2 separate regions of the Homo sapiens genome follow, and region 2 is linked to region 1. The links are contacts of gene promoters, found by promoter capture Hi-C in human tissues and cell types (Jung and others, 2019). All regions are on one chromosome and are shown on one strand. Each heading gives the region's core, a stretch centred on a gene start or on the middle of the fragment in contact. The rest is flanking DNA. Distances are from core to core; before and after follow the strand shown. Region 1 holds the start of PSKH1 (protein serine kinase H1). Region 2 overlaps NFATC3 (nuclear factor of activated T cells 3).

Region 1 (2,648 bases), core at 48-2,547:
GGATTTTATAGGACAGATGTAAGTTTCCAACACTGGTAGGTGGTCGGTGGGGTGGAAGGCAGTGTATAGCAAACTGAGAAAACTGCGTTATCTAAAGCACAAGGGGACCAAGCACAGTGGCTCACGCTTGTATTAATAATCTCAATATGTTAGGAGCCTAGGCAGGAGGGTCTCTTGAAGCCAGCTCTGGCAACAAAGCCAGACTCCCTGGCTCTACAAAAAATTTTAAACTTAGCCAGGCGTGGAGGGGAGTGCCTCTTGTCTCAGCTACTCGGGAGGTTGAGGCGGGAGGATCATTTGAGTCCAGGAGTTCAAGGCTGCAGTGAGCTATGAATGAGCCATTGCACTCCAGCTTGGGCAATAGAGGCCTTGTCTCAAAATTAGTAATACTAAAACACAAAGGTATGAAACCAGAGCTAACAGGAGCGCCACACGTTTTAACAACAATAAACTACGTAAAGGGAGCACAGAAGTGCTCCGGTGTTGATTGGCTGGTTAAACCTTCACCAGATTACGAAGAGCCCTGAATGCCTTGCTAAGAAGTGCGGCCTTTGTCCTGAAGGCACTAAGGAACTAGTTTCAGGCAGTGAAGGACTTACTCAGATTTTCAGGTGGGAATTATCACTTCAGCCGCTTTATGGAGGGGGACTAAGTGTGGGGGACTAGGCTTCCCCTTGCAGGTAGAGGAATGACAAGCTTGCCAAGCAAGCAACCCAGCTGGACTCAGACCTGCTATTTCCCAGCCTGCACAAGGAAGCGATCAGCTGCCCCGCCGGCCCCTGGCAGACGCAAAGGAGGGGTGTGGAGTAGGCGCCGGGCGCGAGAAGGCAGTAAGGACAAGGACAACCAGGTTGGATCAACCTGACCCGCTCTGGACGCGGGGCGGCTGAACAGCAAGCAGGCAGGGCAACCGACCACGTCCACCAGGCCCAAGCGGGCCTGGAGACGGGCTATCCAGCACGACAGCACGTTCCGAGGCCAGTCCAGACTCGGACGCCGGGAACCCGAGCAGCCATCGCCCGGCCTGCTCTCCAACCCTGTAGGCCCTGGCGCACGGGGCACGGGCCGACGCTGCAGGCTGACCAGGGGCAGGCCCCGGAGCGCCAGAAAGCGACCACGACCACAGTTCGGCTGCCCCTCCCGCCCGTCGGGCCGTCGTCCTGGGCCGGGCCGCCTCACCTCGCGCGGGCGGCGGGCTCTTCGGCGTCTCGGCGGCTCTGCCGGCCATCTCCGGGCAATGGCAGCGGCCGCCGCCGCCGCCGCCGCCGCCGCCATTCTCGGGCGTTAGCGTCGTGGCGTCATCACAGCGCGCAGCTGACGCCAAAACAAGCCTACGGGGCGGGTCGGGGGCGGGTCGGGGGCGGACTCTCCCGAAACTGGGCTACGCGGCTGGCGGATCTCCGAGCGTGGCCTGCCAATCAACCTCTTCGGGGCGGGGACGGGCACTCTCCTGAAGGGGTGGGTCTATTTGTCGCTCAAAGTAACTTGACCGCTGCCTGCGAGACGGGTCGGTGATAGAAAAAGGAAGGATCGCGGGAAATAGGGAGAAAGTTTCAAGTTTCTGGTTGGGGGAAAGGGGACTCTGTAATGCGAGCTTGGGTAAACAATGCTTTCCAACAGAGGTTTCTGGAAGTGCCTCTGGAACTCCGCAAAGGATAGACTTAATTTTCATTAACAAAATCTATTTTTTAAAACTGCACTTAGAATAATTTCAACACTCCATGTGTTGAATTTGGCCTCCATCAAAGAAGAGATGCAAAGGGTTAATTTGTAGATAGGTGAAGTCAATCTTGGGCCAACTTCTGGACTCATGGTTATTTGTTGTTGTTAATTTAATTTATATGCCGAGTCTGAAAAGCAAGCGGATTTTTAAAAAATTGTTACCATTCACAATGACTTCTCTATAGGATCAGAACTGGTTCACTTTACAGTCAACCCAACTTGGAGGGGTTAAAATAGGTGCTGCAGATGGTAAGTGCATTGTAACCTCCATCCATCTTCCCCATTTCAGTAGCTCTGTATTCAAATCTTTATTGAGTATGTACTTTGCACATGGAACTGTCTTTGATTGACTGTATAAGCTAATGTTATACTTTAAACCTAAAAATAAATTAACACCAATAAAACATTGTCGTCGGCTGGGCGCCACTGCTCACACTTGTAATCCCAGCACTTTGGGAGGCCAAGGCAGGTGGATCACCTGAAGTCAGGAGTTTGAGACCAGTCTGACCAACAAGGTGAAACCCTGTCTCTACTAAAAATACAAAAATTAGCCAGGCTTGGTGGCAGGCTCCTGTAGTCCCAGCTACTCGGGAGGCTGAGACAGGAGAATAGCTACAACCTGGGAGACAGAGGTTGCAATGAGCTGAGATTGCACCACTGCACTCCAGCCTTGGCGATGGAGTGAGACTCCGTCTCAAAAAAAAAAAAAAAATTGTTGTCTATTTTATGTAGTAAGGTTTCTTTCTTTTCTTTTTTCCTGAGATGGAGTTTCGCTCTTGTTGTCAGGCTGGAGTGCAATGGCACAATCTCGGCTCACTGCAACCTCTGCCTCCCAAGTTCAAGCAATTCTCCTGCCTCAGCCTCCCCGAGTAGCTGGGATTACAGGCGCCTGCCACCATGCCCGGTTAATTTTCTTTATTTTTATT
Region 2 (2,648 bases), core at 47-2,546, 310 kb before region 1:
ATAGAAAAGTAAGCAAATATGAAAGAGATCATAGATTTGGGAGGTGGGGGTTGCAGTGAGCCGAGATGGTGCCACTGTACTCCAGCCTGGGCAGTAGAGCGAGAATCCATCTCAAAAAAAAAAAGAAAAAAAGATAGTGGTGCAAATATTCAAAGCAGTATTTTATAGAATATTTTATGGAATATTCTATTTTAAGAATATCTTTTCAAGGAAGCTCTTTTATGTTACAGTATAGAATAATCTCTCAAGATTCTATATTACATGGGAAATGCAAAGTATAAACTAGTATACATAATATGCTAGTAAAAATAAGGGGAAAAAAATGCAACTGTTTATAAATGCATAGAATGACAGCCAAGAAACTAGTAACTCCAATTCTCCCTACAGAGGACAATGGAGTATCTACTTAGAAGACAGATTTTTTTTAACTATGTATAATGTTGTAACTTTAGCATTTTAAACCACATGAACATATTACTTGTTCAAAAAATGATTATATTAAGAAACACAGGCCAGGCATGGTGGCTCACGCCTGTAATCCTAGCACTTTGGGAGGCCGAGACCAACCTGAGCAACGTAGTAAAAGCCTGCCTCTACAAAAAAATTTAAAAATTAGCCGGATGTGGTGGCAGGCACCTGTAGCCCCAGCTACTCGGGAGGCTGAGGTGGGAGAGAAATGCTGGAGCCTGGGAGGTCGAGGCTGCAGTGAGCCATGATGGTCCCACTGCACTCCAGCCTGATCAACAGAGCAAACTCCTGTCTCCGTTCCCCCACCAAAGAAATAAACACATTTAAAATGTTAAAATTCCCATTCTACATAAAATCATCTATAGATGTTTTTAAATATACAACATGATTATCAAGGACTTAATCTGTACCACACTCTTGTAGATGTAAAGTTAAAATGCTTGTAACCATCACTCTCAACCCTACCCTATCTTCCAGCATAAATGAGACTTTCACATGTTGTCTCTTGCCCAGATGGAGACACTAACTGTAGGCTTTGGAAATGTCTTTAAAAAAAAAAAAAAAAAAGAGCCAGGCATCTTCAAACAGAGAAAAGCTGTTTGAACACATTTATCTAAGTCTATCAAAAGCTATGATTGTTAGCAAGAGGTAACCTTGTAATGCCAAGGCAGAAAACTGCCACCAAACCACAAAAAGCTTGTTCAACTGCTGAACCTAAAATTAAACAATTTATCTCTCATTAAAAAATCTTTTTGTTCCTGTGAATAATCTGTCTTCGAAGGAACTCAAAAAAAGGATATCAATTTTAAAATAGAATACATCTTTAAGACAGGTTTTGCTATCTTACACATGGCAGCACATTAGAAAGTTACAATGCTATTGTCTTTACGAAAGCGAGATTATATAAGTAATCAATTATAGCTATTTTAGAAGCCACTAAAAACACATGTGAGAAAATCTACATTTCAGACAAATCTGGATTCAAATGTCTGCCCCAATTATTTGTGGCCATATAACGCTGGGATGTGCTTAAGGTCTCTGAGCCACATCTATACAAAATTAAGACTAATAATTCACATTTCACACATGATTGCAAAGAATTAATGAGCCACTAGCAAAGTGCCTAGCACAGTGTTCAAAAAAAATATGAGTTTATCAAGAAACAGTAACCATAATTCATTACCATTTTTTGTATTTTTGAGACAGAGTATCACTCTGCTGCCCAGGCTGGAGTGCAGTGGCCTGATCTCAGCTCACTGCAACCTCTGTCTCCCAGGTTCAAGTGATTCTCCTGCCTCAGCCTCATGAGTAGCTGAAATTACAGGCGTTCACCACCATGCGTGGCTAATTTTCACTATTTTCTTTTTTTTTTGGAGATGGAGTCTTGCTCTGTCGCCCAGGCTGGAGTGCAGTGGCACCATCTCAGCTCACTGCAACCTCTGCCTCCCAGGTTCAAACGATTCTCCTGCCTTAGCCTCCCAAGTAGCTGAGATTACAGATGTGTGCCACCACACCCGGCTTATTTTTGTATTTTCAGTAGAGACGGGGTTTCACCATGTTGGCTAGCCTGGTGTCAAACTCCTGGCCTCCAGTGATCCGCCTGCCTCGACCTCCCAAAGTGCTGGGATTGCAATCATGAGCCACTGTGCCTGGCCCAATTTTTACTGTTTTTAGTAGAGACGAAGTTTCACCATGTTGGTTAAGCTGGTCTTGAACTCCTGATGTCAAATGATCCTCCCATCTCGGTCTTTCAAAGTGCTGGGATTACAGGCACGAGCCACCGCGCCCAGCCATTAACTATTTTTAAATACACATTTTGAGGGGAACTTAGTTTGAAGACTTCTGATATGCTGCTTTAGTGGTAGCCTCTCTTGGACTTTTCCTAGCTTATGTATAAATTATATTTTTAATTGCATTTTATTTATTTTGAGACAGGGTCTCACTCTGTCGCCCAAGTTGAAGTGCAGTGGCATGATCTCTGCTAATTTCAACCTCTGCCTTCCAGGCTCCAGCGATCCTCCCACCTCAGCCTCTCGAGTAGCTGGGACTATAGGCACACGCCACCACACCCGGCCTAATTCTGGTATTTTTTATAGAGACAGGGTTTCACCATGTTGCCCAAGCTGGTCTCAAACTCCCGAGCTCAAGCGATCCACCGGCTCTGGCCTCCCAAAGTGCTG

Evidence for each region. Contacts are between HindIII fragments. The study calls those that stand out against the background at their distance.
Region 2: a fragment that was not itself captured here is called in contact with the fragment with the promoter of PSKH1 in region 1 in 1 of the 25 tissues and cell types used here (spleen).

Annotation. Positions count from the first base shown.
Region 1 is chr16:67,891,903-67,894,550 of GRCh38, reverse strand. It overlaps PSKH1 (protein serine kinase H1), which reads right to left and starts at 1,297. Exons shown (of 3, transcript NM_006742.3): 1 at 1,180-1,297. RefSeq lists silencers at 1,051-1,170, 1,501-1,560. The HindIII fragment of the contact is 8,725 bases long and covers 1-2,648 here.
Region 2 is chr16:68,203,381-68,206,028 of GRCh38, reverse strand. All of the region lies in intron 9 of NFATC3 (nuclear factor of activated T cells 3), which reads right to left. Among named protein-coding and RNA genes, the nearest start is that of MIR6773, 29 kb to the left of the region's middle. The HindIII fragment of the contact is 4,485 bases long and covers 1-2,648 here.